Regions from separate parts of the Homo sapiens genome. Here region 2 is linked to region 1. Evidence: promoter capture Hi-C in 16 types of primary human blood cells and fetal thymus (Javierre and others, 2016). All regions are on one chromosome and are shown on one strand. Each heading gives the region's core, a stretch centred on a gene start or on the middle of the fragment in contact. The rest is flanking DNA. Distances are from core to core; before and after follow the strand shown.

Evidence for each region. Contacts are between HindIII fragments. The CHiCAGO score rates a contact against its expected background, and 5 or more counts as called.
Region 2: a fragment that was not itself captured here is called in contact with the fragment with the promoter of DNER in region 1 in 1 of 17 cell types (endothelial precursors); the score reaches 5.6 in endothelial precursors.

What each region holds. Positions count from the first base shown.
Region 1 is chr2:229,709,888-229,717,294 of GRCh38, forward strand. It overlaps DNER (delta/notch like EGF repeat containing), which reads right to left and starts at 4,668. Exons shown (of 13, transcript NM_139072.4): 1 at 4,261-4,668. The coding sequence starts at 4,536. RefSeq lists silencers at 4,499-4,608, 4,679-4,738 and enhancers at 4,576-5,350, 5,351-6,124. The HindIII fragment of the contact is 4,517 bases long and covers 3,661-7,407 here.
Region 2 is chr2:229,415,795-229,423,201 of GRCh38, forward strand. DNER (delta/notch like EGF repeat containing) reads right to left here. Exons shown (of 13, transcript NM_139072.4): 9 at 2,314-2,436. Among named protein-coding and RNA genes, the nearest start is that of PID1, 150 kb to the left of the region's middle. The HindIII fragment of the contact is 2,816 bases long and covers 1,957-4,772 here.

The sequences.
Region 1 (7,407 bases), core at 3,418-5,917:
CCAATAGAAGGAGTTTCTGTATCACTCACCACAAAAGAAAAATTGGCCCAGCCACTGCCACCTCTGATACCTGCCTGCTTCCCCAAATGAACCAGAACAAGCAAGAGCGGCCTCAATTTCTAATCAGTTGAAGTTTTTTCAAACCTATCAGAAACATTTTTTTTATGTAGTGTCCATTTGCTTGCCATCATGGTAAAAATAACTTCAGCTAGGACCCAGAATTCTAACTCTAAGGTGAAGGTTCCTGGTTAGCATGTGGCATAAGGAGAATCTGTGTCTTTGTCACCTCTGTGCCTTTTTATTCCAGCTGAGCACACTCATACAAGCTCATTTAGAGCAAGACTGGACTCAGAAATTTCTTTATCCCCTTTTTAATGATAAAACTCAAGGAGGTTATAGCTCTTGCTCCCTATTGTAACTATGACAGGTCCAGGGCTGGATTTTCATCTAGGCACTCTTTAGATTCTATAGCCCTGTATCAAGCCAGCCTGGCTGGCTCAAATTCCAGTTCCAGTTCTCACACTTACTAGCAGTGTGACATTGGGACAGTCACTTCACTTTTCTGTACTTCATCTATAAAATGGGAGTAGGGACAGCACCCAGCTCATAGGACATTGCAAGGATCAGCAAGTTATGTCTGCAAAGTCCTTGGAACAGTGCAGGCACGTGGCAAGTGCTTAAAAGGAGGGTAAGCTACCATCATCATCATCATTACATATCTACAAATTAGATTTTCATATACAGTTTTAAAATCAGCTGAATTTCTCATGATTTAAGATGTTTGCATGTGTTAGAGGACTTTCAGGGCAGTATCAAAATGTGACCTTGGATTAGTCACTCAATCAAAATGAGCTTCATTTTCTGCATTTGACTAAAAGAGATGATGATTAGCTCGATCTAGTTAAGGTAATGAGCATTTGAAATATGTGCAGAAAGTTTACAAAGAAAGAAATGTCACAGGTGCTCAGTGATTTACAGCACTTAATTAATTTAATCCTTCCCAGAACCTTAGTGTGAACATCCCACAGAGACAGGATGGACACCCACTCAAAATTTGGTTTGGACCCTGAGACTGAAAATGGCATGCATACACGCGCACACACACACACACACACACACACACACACACACACAGGATACAAAAAGGTTTACTGCTGACATAATGGGGCTCTCTGGGGAGAGCAGGCAGCTCCCAAATGGGTTTAAATGGCTTCTGAGAACAGGGAAAGGAGACTGGCTTGTGGGTTTTGCTGCATTTTGGGGTTGGGGCTGGAGTAGCACAGGGCAGGAGTTTGCATGGTTTGAACCTCCCACCAGCACCAAAGGAGGGAACCCCTGGGCTTTCTTATCAGCTTGTTTTGATGTGGAGGAAAAGAGGAAGGGGAGAGGTGAGGCTTTAAAGCTGTCAGCAGCAATCAGACATCAAGGAATGGAATCACTATCTTCATGAGGTAGGTCCCATAGATCCCATCGTTGAAGATGAGGAAATAAGACCCAGTAGTTTTAACTTCAGCTTGACTTCAAACCCACACGACCTACAATTCCCAAATCCTAGGAGTTTCCATGACTCAGGTGACAAAAGAAGCATGTCCTAGACCCCATTGACTTACGCAAACTCAATCAGCCAACCACAGAAAAGCTAAAGACATCCTTTTTTAAAAAAGCCTAAAGACAGCCATTTTAATCCTAATTCGTAGTTTATGATTTTCTCAAAATTTCCCCACACACAGAAAGAAACTTCAAGGTTAGGTTCTAATGTTACCATTGCTAACACTATTGTCTTTGGAGAAGGAGGAGTGACGCTCTGTTAAAAGATCCTCTTTACATCCAGGTAAAATTCCATTTCCAATTTATCCAGTGAGCACAAGGTTCTATTTCAGCAACCACATAGTCTGCAGTGGCTAAGATCCAATTTCCTTATCTGTAATTGAGTATGTGTAGTTTCTCTCTCCCTCTCTCCCCTCCCCTCCCCACCACCCCAGGTTTAACTTCTCTTCTGAAATTGTCTTTTGTGTTCTTTGCTGTTCCCATGAAAAATGAGTCTCAAGTCTTACTGCGAGATCATGAACGATTAAATTAAAATCATCAGGAATCCATTTTTATGGATTGTAAGGCCCTGAATCATCTCAGTAAGTTTTTCTGGGTAACCAAGTCCAATCAAGTTCCAAGTTCACTAAGCTTTCCTATGAGGATTACAGTAACTTCACCGCTCTCTCCAACTCACACACCAGGGCATGCAGTATTGCTTCTGCTCAGGTGGATGGTGTTCACACAGCTAAGCCTACCTCCAATGGGAGCTACAAAAGAAATCTGAATCTGTTTTGATCCAGTTGGTCCTGCAATGTTATGTATTAGTTCCTGACTCTTCGGAATGAATTATATTATACATCAAGTCACTACTTAGGACAAATCAAAATATTTATGTTTCGCTGTTAGTCATCTTTAGGTGGCACTAAAGAGCTCTTTTTCTTGAAGATGTCTTATATCTGTTTTTAGAGTCACCAAAAACCATCTCAGAGTTGTGTTAAATTCCCAGTGAGTCTTTCTTCTCATGTAAATCGATGGGCACTCTAACCTACCTTCTCCCATCCATTCCCACTAAACCCTAGGTCCAAATCAACTATTTCTTTGAAGGATAAAATTCAGACGTGTGAATATAACAGCAGTTTGATGGACACACTCAGACAATTCATTTCTTCAGGAAAAGTCATATAAATCATCAATCCACAGGGAAAATTAGCGTGAGTGCATTCCTTGGTTTTTGATTTGCAGTTATTTTGACTTTTGCAAAAGCAAGATTTTGTTCTAATGGTTAGAATGGCTCCAACAGGCATTTCCCCCAAGAAGCTATCATGTCCCAAATCTACTCCTGAGGCTCACATCACACAAATTCTTCCTCCTCCTCATCACCTCCCTTCAAGTAACTAAAGCTTATTGTAACCAGTAAACAAAGAGGAAGAGCACAGTGTTGAAAAGATAGATTCAGTTTGCTAATTTGCTATTAAATGAAATAAAAAGATTCTAGATAAATGCAAAAAAATCTGGCTGTCAAGGTCAAGTTTCTCAATCCCATTTACCTCTAAAAAATGTAAAACCTGTCATAATGAAAGGGCAGCCTTTTTCCCCATTGAAAGAACCTATTTGAGCATTCTCAAAGTAACTCTCCAATCATTGTTATCAAATTTATATGAAACAAACTCCTCCACCCTAAATGTAAGGAAGATAGTATCTGATCCCAAATATCGTCCATATTCATGTGGTTTAATGTAATCATTTCAGATAACTTCATTATTTGCCCTACCCTGCAATACAGGTTTGGGGATTTTCTACCCGTACACACAGTCCTACCAAATTGCCTACTGGAAATGTTGATGTTAATAGGTTTCACAGAGCTTTAACGGACTTGTAAAAGCCCCAGATATTATTTTCTGCCAAATTCTCCTGAAAACCCCAAATTCACGGGCGGCTGCTGGCTACATCCCATCGTCCCATCCCTCGCACCGCCCCCACGCTTTCTGGCGGCTTCCCGGTGCCCTGCTCACGCCCCGGCTGCCAGCCCCAAGCGTGCGCCCCGTGGAGCGTCCGGCAGGAAGGGCGGCCCTGCCAGCGCCACGTACAATGCCCCCTCGAATGCCTCCGACTGTTCCAACACTGCTCCTAAGCTTAGAGAGGGCTGGTCGCAGGCCGAGGGGAGGCAGCTGCCCTCCTCGTCCTCTGGCTGCTTTGTCACAGCCCTCAAGGGCGTAGGAAGAGAAGGAGAAAGTGCCCCACCACCTGGCACGGGGCCCACCATCACCTGCCTCCCACACCGCACACCCTTTACACACACAGGGTCCAGCCGGACGTGGAGCGTGGACCACCTGGACATTGAACACCTCGCCGGGGACGCTCGGAGCCGGCTCCTCCGCGCTGCCAAGGCGGGCACCGCTCAAGTGGTTCTTGGCTCGGCCCGGCCTGGAGGGGCGCGCCACTCAGTGGCCAACCGGAGCGTCTAGAGCCCCGCGCGAGAAGTGCCGAGCCCCGGAGCGGCACACCCCGAGAGCCCGGCTGGCCCCGCCCGGGAACCAGGGCGGGTAAGGGAATCAGGGTCGGCCCGGGGGTCCGCGTCCACGCGGGCCAAGAGACTGGATCCATCTTCTTCCCAAAGTGGGAAAGCCTGTGTCAGGCGTGCCCATTGTCGGGCAGCAGCAGCAGGGCCGGCGGGAAGAGGCTGCTGGTCCCGGACCAGCGCCCCGCACCGCGCCCGCCGCTTCCACTCACCTGGCAGTTGGCGCCGGAGATCCCGGCGGGGCAGGTGCAGCTGTAGCCAGGCTCGCCGGCGGGGGCCGGGTGCTGCGGGTCCGGCTCAGGGCGCGAGGTGCACACACCCCCATTCCGGCAGGGCTGCGCGGCGCACGGCCCGGGCGCAGACAGGGGCGCGGCGGGCACCGGGTTGGCCAGGGAGCTGCCTCGGGGCCCCGCTCCGAGCAGCAGCAGCAGCAGGGCCAGCGCGGGCAGCAGCTGCGCACCGGGCGCCTGGGCGCGGCGGGGCTGCATGGCCGGCCGGGAGGGCGCGGGAGCCGGAGCCAGGACGCAGTGACGGCGGCGGCGGTGGCAGTGGCGACGAGAGCTGCGAGAGCGACGGTGGCGGCTAGGGCTGCTCCGCCGGGCCGGGCGCCTCCTGCAGCTGCGGGATCCGCGGTTCCCCGGGCAACGGCGGGCGGGGCCTGCGGGGCGGGGCGGGGCGGGGCGAGCGGGGGGCGGGGCGCCTGGCGGCCCCGGCTCTGGAGCATCGGGGAGTGGGGCCTCTTTCCCCGCAGGGAGTTGGGATGGGGGTTGCAGGAAGACGATGCGGGACCCCATCCCCCAGGAGTGGGTCGAAGTCACGGGTGTGTCCAGAAGCAGCCCTGGTACAGGGAGCCAGGCGACGCTGGGGCAGGAAAGGGGCTGGAGAGGTCCACGAGTGAGGGAAGCGGGGCTTTGAGGGGCTTCCAGAGCCGGGAGCACCGAGTGCGCCCCAAGGCCCGGGCAGGGCAGGGCGCGGGAGGCGGCAGGGCGCCTCAAGGGAGGGGCGGCGCGCTCGCAGCAGCCACCTTTGGCCTCTTGGCGCAGAATCTGCGAGACCGCCGCGGGGCCCGGCCTTGCCTCATCCCCCGGGACTGCTCCCCTTCCCACAGCGCTTCTCCCGGCACCCCAAGCCCTCCCGCCCGGCCACGGAACCCTGCGCCCGACGCTTGCTCAGCAGCCGGGTTCGCCTGGAAGTGACCTCGCCTCCGCCAGGCGGACCCGGGGCCCTTGTCCTTGGTGCTGACCCAGCTGTCTCATTCTCGCCGGCCCTTTCCAGAGCGCGGGGCCTTGCCGCACCACTAAGGAACGTCTGGCCGCGCCGTGTGAGGCCGGGAAGAGGCCTTGGTGTAAGGCTGTCCACCCCTGTCGTTGAACCTAGGGGGAAACTGAGGCCCAGAAAGTCTGGATTCGAATCCAGTGGGTCAATTGACTCCCAGCCCAGAACGCCCGAAAGAACAGTTCAAAAGCCCAGGTTGGCAGAGGCGCTGCTAGCGGCAGGAATCGCAACAGGGGACTCTGCATAAAAGGAGCATTCGCTGTGACCTACTTCGGAGGGGATGGGGGGGGCGGGCTCTTCTACACGTCCTGGCTGGGCTGGCTGGTGCTGCGACCGCCAAGGAGGCTGCACTCCGCTGAATAAAGCGCATCCAGCCTTGTCTCCTCCACCTGACCTTTCACAATCTCTATTACCTGTGGGTTCCCAGGTACCTGTTACCTTCTTTTTAAGGTGGCCAAATGAAAAAAGAAAATGTGATTCCCCTGGATTGACAGTCTGGGCCAATTTTTTTTTTAGTAAACACAAAAATAGCTTGTTTTGTTTTTTAAAAAAATTAAAGTAAGGACTCCATGTGAACTTCTGCTGTAGGTGTCACAGACGCCAGGGATTGCTAAAAGTCCTCCAGTGGAAACAGAAGGCAAACTGCACGGCTTCTCCCTGTCCTGTTCAAACGCAGAAGCAAATGTCACACTTTTCTGCTTCAGGAGATACCTAAAATTCATGTGGCCATTGCAGGAAATCACTGAACCCCAGACAGATCTGCAAGCGGAGAATTCAGACCTCCAAGTGGATAGAGTTATTACATTTTTCCTCACACCTGCTGTCTTTCAATCTAAGACCTCTTCCTCTTGAAAATTCTTAATTTTGTGCCACGCCAGCACCCTCTGCTGGTACTAGTGTCGTCATTCAGGTGGTTTCTGTGCCCCTGGAGTTGCGTTCTTTCCTGAAACTAACTTCTCTTACCTTAAATCCTGGACTAGTGGATAGTGCTCTTCATTGCCTTCCATCAAGACACACACACAAATGAAGCAAGATGAAGTGTAAAAAGGTTGTGAGTTAATTAAAATCACATTTCAGTTTATTGTACTTTTGCCTGAGCAACCCCTTTGTTTGTGTATTTCATATTATTTTGAAATATAGGATAATTAAAAGTGGTTTTATTTTCTGGATGCTGGTTACTGCATGTTTCAGATAATTTTCCTTGCTAAAAGTATTCTCTTAGTCTTTAATCTTTAAAATGCATATTATGGCAGAGACAATACAAGATCCTTTCATTTTTTCCAGGCTAAAAAGGAAAACTATAATCTTCCAGCACCTTAGCTTATAGGCAGAGCAACATGATTAATGCTGGGGAAAAAGCATATTGATTTGCATGTCCTGGTCCCAAAACATCCATGTACTAAGTGCCATGAAAGTGTTAACTATTATTACTGTTACCACGCTCAGAGAAATGGGTCTTTTCTGTAGATTCCGAAAGCTGATCTGGTACTTTACTGACAGCTTTTCAACCATCTGCAAGATCCCCCAAATACTCAACTAAAAAGTCCAACCAATGTATTACCCTGTCACATTAGCAAAAGTGATTAAAATAATATTGCCTCTATGTTTAAATGAAAGCTAAAAATCCAGGCTTTTATTTTATATTATTCCCAACTTACAGAATATCAAATCTTCATCCTGACCCACCTCATTTCCTTTTTTGATAGAGTCCTTATATTGACAAGTCAAAGGCCAAATATACCAATAATGTATCTTGATTTTAGCAAAAAAAAAAAAAGTGATAACATTTCTCATGATCACCTTATGGAGAAAATTCAGCTAAGTGGACTCAAAACTGTTTAACAACATACCAATCGGGGGGTCACTATCAAGCTACAAGAAGTTTTTAGGGAAATAACCATGGAGTTGAAATTTTTGGCAGCTGATAAAATTCATACCAGAATCAACATGTAAATTTATCTTAATCAGTAAAAATGCTGAGCTAAAATAAATGAAATGGAATATGAGGTGAATGATAGTACATTCGATCTTACTGCTACTTCTTCGTAAGACTTTCTCTTCCTGCCCTCCTTAAAGTTAGATGT
Region 2 (7,407 bases), core at 2,115-4,614, 300 kb before region 1:
TTCATTTAAAAGTCTGAAACGCTGCTCTGCTATTCTTTACCTCATGATAGAGAGGGGCAGTACAATGCCGATTTGATTCTCTTTCTTCTGTATGTAACCTGTGATCCCTTCGAAGAATCTTGTAAAAAATTCTCTTTATCCTTGCAGTTACAAATTTTACCAGGAAATCTCAAATTGTGTATCATCTCCTTCATTAATCCCATTACTGCCCTGTGAGCCCATTCTATTTGAAAATAAGACTTTCTTCACCTCACAGACACCTCCTTCTAGGAGTTAGTTAATTCTGCTTCTATTTCCACATGCTCCTTCTTCTGGAGCACCCATCGCTCAGGCAGAAGCAGATCTCTCAAATCTTTTCTCCATGTTTCCTGTCTTTTCACTCGTGGTTTCCACTTCCTCATATTTTGATTCTCTCATGCACTAGTTCCTCCTTTTTATTCAGATCCAAATTCAATTTTGAGTAGTGTACATTACTTTCTTCACTTCCTTTCTTGAGTGTTTAGAGCTGTTGTTGCAATTTTTGTTTTTATTTCCCAAAACTTTTCTCCCTCTCTGAGTTGCTGGCGTGGGCTAGTGTACTGGCCAGGCTAGTGGGTGGAAATCTTGGCAGAGACAGACAACATAACACATTCCCCTTCAGGGATGGATGGGCAGCCAATGGGGCCCTGTGTACTAAGGCATGAGGCAGAGAGAGGCCTCCCAGTTTGGTGTTCTCAAGGCCACAAAAAATGGGGGGGCCAGCTCAGCCTACTGTGCAATTTCCTTAGACAGCAGCCCGTAGCCATGAGATCAGTACACCCCTCTGCCTCCTAGGGTCAGACGCAGCACAATTACAGCATGCACTTCCTCTCTATAAGCTGAAGGATTTTTTTGGACTAATCTGTTCATTGAGTCATCAGTTCTCTCTGGAGCCCTCATCCCCTGTTCTTGTGGTTAAGCAAAGGCTCCCAGCACACATACCCTTTCTTGAGACCCCAAATCTTCAGATGACCCCATTCAGGGTCATCTACCTTATTGAGCCATCCCTAGCAGAGAGTCAGGAGGGATCAGAGATATTGAATGTCAATGTGAGCTGCCATCTTCCTAGAATCTTCATTTGTTCAGAGTAAGAAATCCATGAAAATATTTATACACATGGAAAGGAGCAAGGGGAAAGAAGGAGGTTGAAGATATGTAGAGAGAAAGGTAATAGATAGATAGACTCAGAACTGAGAAGCCTGAGAATGAAGCCAGCACATCTGCTGTTGTGTCCTGGTAGATGTTAGTGGAGTTTGGTTCTAACCGAACGTCATACTCCAACAGAAGCATCAGATCTGTGGAACACAAAGTCAAGACCTGGCCCAGCTTCAGCCCTCTTATCCAGGAGCTTAATCAAGTTTTCAGTGTAGCCTACAAGGCCATGAGACTTGCCAAAAAGGTTACTAAATAAAGGTAGGTTCATCCAAAGAGAAGCAACGGTGAGGGCAATGCAAGGTCTCCAGCCAGGTGGATGGCATCAAGCAAGCAGCAATAGGAGCAAGCGGTTGAATGAAATGGCTATAAATAGAGCCCACAAACGCATTCCAAAATCTAAACCCGGCCCCGTAGTTATGGCTTAGAGAAATGTGTGCAACAGCTGATAAATAGGTTCTCCTGGAACAGGGCCGTCTGAGGATATCTGGGCTCCAGGAAGCCTTGCCATCCACAAAACGTGGCCAGAGGCCAGTGAAGATGCTGGGAAAGGGCTTTAGGAACCACGCTGACCAGGCTTATAGGGGAAGAGCATTACTGTCCACCTCATAGGGTTCTCGGGGGGATTTAGTGAGCTATGCACATTAGGGGTTAGAACGGGGTCCACACATTGGAAACACTCTGTCAATGTCGCCTGTTTTTAATAAGCATTAACTTACTTGCTGATACATGGGACTCCGCCTGCCTCCTCCCCAAGAAAGCACAGCATTCTATCTCTGCATAAGAAGCTTTATAGGACGGCATCCTTCCTCTTCCACAGTTTTCACAGCCATGGTCTCTAACCTATGTCTGACAGTCCATCTTAATATTACTTTTTGTTTTCAGCTTTTTACACATTCAATAAAAAAGAAAGCGAGGATCCACAAAGAACAGGACAGGAAAGGGGGTTGTTTCTCAATCTATCAGGAAGAAACCAGAGACTTGCAAATTGGTCTCCTTGGACCGATTAATCATGCCAGCTTCAGCATTTGATTGTTATTCTGAACAATTCATGGTCCAATTAGAGGTTTATGCATTTACACTGAGAAATACATGACGTCATTTAGAGCCATTCTGGCACAGGAAGGCCAGGCGGCCTCTCACCTTTGTATTCTGCCAGGCACACACACTCATAGCCATTAACGAGGTCCCTGCAGGTGGCTGCATTCAGGCATGGAGCGGAGAGGCACTCATTATATTCCTCCTCACAGTAGAGGCCATGGTAACCTGAGGGACAGAGAGAAAGGCCCACTGTCAAATGCATCCCATTTACAACCCACGCGGGACCAGCCTGCAAGGAAGGCAGTTGGGGGTATTCATTAGAAAGTATGGTATAAACAGATGGGATTTCAGGAGCTAGATCTCTTGGGGTAAAGTTGAAAGGTGGATTTGGGGGAAGGCTATGAAGAAAGCGCCTGTTCTTATCACACTTTTTCATGATCCCAAGTATAAAAGAAGTGATTCCATTTATCCACTGACATTTTCATCATAGTGCATCCAACAGTGCTGGTGTTAGGGTGATCCAGTCACTGAGTGTGTCTGCTGTGGCCATCAGAGATAGTGAATGAGCAGGATTTACGGCAGGGGAGGAGCAAACAGCTCCCTTCAAGAGTGAGAACCTGGCTCGGTGTGGTGGCTCATGCCACCACAAAGTGCTGGTAATCCCAGCACTTTGGGATACCGAGGCAGGTTGATCACTTGAGCTCAGGAGTTCGAGACCAGCCTGGCCAACATGGTGAAACTCTGTCTCTACTAAAAATACAAAAAATTAGCCAGGCGTGGTGGCGGGCGCCTGTAATCCCAGCTACTCAGTAGGCTGAGGCAGGAGAATCACTTGAACCTGGGAGGCAGAGGTTGCAGTGAGCCAAGATTGTACCACTGCACTCCAGCCTGGGCGACAAGAGCAAAACTCCATCTCAAAAAAAAAACAAAAGAAAACAAAAAGTGTGAGAGCCACATTAGAAAAGTATATCTGTATTTCCTTTTCAAGTCAGAAAAGAAAATTAGCTCAAAATGCTTAACTGAAATTATTGATGAAATGTGAGGGTATTTTTGTTGTTATTGCTTGTTTAAAGATATGATTATATAAATTATAATATTTTAAATTGTACCTAAATGTTTAAATTACTAAAGAAATAATCATGTGAGTGAAGAGAAAATAAACCCACAATTTCTTGATAAAGTGGATTTTACCCTCCTATTTGCAAAACAGGTGTTTATTCTAAAGGACAAGAAGACAACATTCTTTGAGATTCATTCATGAGGGTTATGCTGTTTTCAACTTTTGAAAACATGTGTTACTGCCAATTTGCAGTGAAACCAGGCCATTTTTGTCCAGCCCTGTCCAAACAATGAAAAACATGTGAGTGTTTTCAAAAGTCACACTGACTGTGTTCGTTCTGAATTCAGATAAGCAGAAAAAATAAGCCCTTATCCAAGTAGGAATTAGAACTACTAGCTTTTCCCTAGCCTTTCCAGCTCACAACCAACTCTCAAACTCAGAAAGTCCCATTAGAACATGCTAATATGTTGAACTGCTTTGTTTCTTGTGCCTATCATAAAAGTAGGTTAAGCTCATATTTGCATTATTAACAGAGCACTTTTCAAATATGTTGCCATTTCAGTTGTTTTTGAACAGCTTTCCAAATTTAGGTTGTGATAATGGCCCCTTTGAGGAGCCCTTGACCTACCTAAGACAAATATACTATAGTTTTCAATTCTTCTGAAAAGTAGTATGTTACCCTACTTTTTGTAACTTTAGGGAAATATTTCTATTACCCTTCATTAGATTATTTTCATCATGTAGATAAGAGGTACTCAACTAGCAGCAATTTTGTCCCCCAAAGGACATTTGAAAATGTTTGGAGACATTTTTCGTTGTCACAACTGGAGGCAGGGGGAGGGGTTGCTGCTGGCATCTAGTAGGCAGAGTCAAGAGTGCTGCTAAGCATCCTACAGTTCTACAGGAGGCTGCGCAGGACAGCCTCTCACAACAAGACTATCCAGAAAAAAATAACAATACAGCCAGGTTGAGAAACTCTGTTCTAGACCAGGGGTCAGCAAACTATGGCCCACAGATGAAATCTATCCCAGCCTGTTTTTGCAAATAAAGTTTTATTGGGACACAGCCACAGTCATGCATTTACATATTGTCTATGGCCGTTTTAACACTACAACAGAGGACTGAGTGGTTGCAACAGAGACCATATGGCCTGCAAAGCCTAAATATTTACTGTCTGGCCCTTTGCGCAGAACAAGTTTGCTGATTCTTGATTTAGATTCAATGAAAGATCTTTCTTTTAACAAGAGTTTTGGATATTAACCCCTTATCAAATGTATTGTTTGCAAATATTTTCTGCCATTCCATAGGTCACCTTTTCATGCTGTTGATTGTTCCTTTGTTATGCAGAACCTTTTAAGTTTGAAGCACCACTTGTATATTTGTGCTTTTGTTGCCTGTACCTCGGATATCATATCCAAGAAGTCATTCCTAAGGCCAATGTTATGAAGTTTTTCCCCTACGTTTTCTTCTAGAAGTTTTATACTTCCAGGCCTTACATCTAAGCTTTTAGTCCATTTTGAGTTGGCAGTTATGTAAGGTACAAAATAATACAAATGGCCAACAGGCATATGAAAATAACATCACTAATCAACATCACTAAAAATCAGGGAAATGCAAATTAAAATCATAACAAAATATCACTTCACACCCATTAGGATGGCCATTATAAAAAACAAAACAAAACAAACAAAAACAGAAAATAACAAGTGTTGGGGCAGATTTGAAGAAATTGGAACCTTTGTGCACTGTTGGTAGGAAGGTAAAATGGTACAGCTGCTATGAAAAACTACAGAGGTTCCTCAAAAAATAAAAAATAGAACCACCACATGATCCAGCAATTCCATTGCTGGGTACTCAACCAAAAGAATCGAAAACAGGATCTGGAGAAGGTAATAGCACTCTCATGTTCATTGCAGCATTATTCACAATAACCAAGAAGTACAAACAACTTGATGTCCATTGACAGAAGAACGGACAGGTCAAGCAAAAGTGGTACATAATACAATGGAATATTATTCAGCCTTAAAAAGGAAGAAAATCTTGTCATGTGCTACAATATGGATGAACCTTCAGGACATTACATTACATGAAATAAGCCAGTCACAGAAGGACAAATACTGTATGGTTCCACCTATATGATGTATTTTTAAAATAGTCAAACTCACAGAAGCAGAAAGTAGAATGATGATGATTGCCAGGGTCTGCGGAAGGGGAAAAATGGAGAGCTGCTATTTAACTATGCAAGATGTTATGCAAGATGAATAAGTTCCAGATATCTGCTGGAAAACAGTGTGTGTATGGTAAATAATACTGTAATGTATACTTAAACATTTGTTAAGAAGGTACATTTAATGCTGTGTTTTTTTACCACTATATATATAAATATATATGTATTATTAAATATACATATTTTAACCACTATTATATACAGATATATATTTTACCACTATCTGTATATCTATATCTATATCTCTATATCTATATTTTACCTACTATATATATAGTGGGTAAAAAATACACAACATAAAAAATATATATAGTGGTAAAAAACATACAACATGAAATATATATATATATATAGAGAGAGAGAGAGAGAGAAAGTGGGAGAGAGAGTAAAAATATATACATATATATCCATGTATATGTAAAGAGTTAAGTGTCTTTTGCTTCTCCTAATATGAGAAGCTTTTTGAGGTCATTGTGGAGTACAATCACCAGCAGCACCTTTTCAATTGCATTTGCCCTCCTAGGAGATCTTTTAACAATCAACATGGAAGGGTAATATATAACCATAACCCTGCATGCATCTTTGACCTCTGAATTGAGGTGGCATTTAAATAGACAAAAATCAAACAAGCAAGTTTTGCAAGATCATCTTTAATTGTTTCCATTTTTGAAAACAGTATCATTATCTTTTTATACTAGCAATATGAAAAGCAAATGAGGAAGTTATTTTACAGAGATAATTAAGCTGGTGATGTTTTTCTTCCTTGGGGGGGAAAAAAGATAAAGTTTTCATATTCTAAAACCGTTTCTTCAGAGACGGTAACATTTAAATGTCTTCATGGAAATGTCAAGGCACCCTTTATACTCAGTGCCAAGCAGCCTCAATCGGACGATTTGAATAAAAAGGCACTCCTTCCAAAAGAGAGGGCTTCTGTGAAAATGAGGCTATCACCCCCTGCTGATAATTAATTCAGGCAAACAAATTAGCTCAGGGCAGTATGCCCAGTGTCTGAAAAAAAATTAGGCTAATCCAAAGATTTTTTAAAAATAAAATAAACAATCAAAGGGTGGGATCAGAGTGGCCCTTTCCAAGGCACTGATCTTTATCAGCACTGCTCCCATCTTTGCATGATTTGCTCCCGAATAATCAGTTCCCCTTATTTCTTTCGGATTGACGGGGCACAGCAACCAACCAGATGGGGGGAGTGAGAAAGAGCGGTGGAGATGGCTGCCATGTCTAGCTGAGTGAGCGGATGAAGTCATTATCACCAAGAGGTACCACCAAAGGAAAAACAGACTTAGAGGAGGAAAAACAGGCTTAGAAGAAGACCAGTTTAACTTTGGACGTGTTTAGATTGGGCACACTTGGGCAGGTCCAAGTGGCAGTTGGAAGTATGCGTGTAAATGGCTTAGAAAGAGCACTTTGGGAATTAGTTGCCTGGAAGTGGTTTTGAAATTTTCATTAAAGAAGAAAATGGAAGGGAAAGAAGAAAATGGAAGGGAAAAAAGAAGGGGTCAAGGTCAGACCACATGGGCAGGTGGAGAACAAAGAGCCAGATCAAGACACTGGACAAGGATTGGGCAAAAAGGAGGAGAAAAGCCCAAGGCATGCAGTGCCATGGAAGCCAGAGGATGAAAGGATATCAAGGAAGGTGGGTTAGCAGTGTCAGAGGCTCTAATGAGCAAGAATGACCACTGGACTAGAAAATGAGGAGGTCACTGAACACCCTCAAAACCATGGTTCTTAATGGTGGCTGTGCTAGCCCTTAGATGGTGTTTAGAGAAAATTAGGGGTGGGAGTGATCCTTATGCAATGATTGGAGGGTTCTACTGGAATTTAGGAGGGTGGGAGAGGGCAAAGTTATTAAATATTGCAATGCCCTGGATATTCCTGCACAACAAAGAATGCC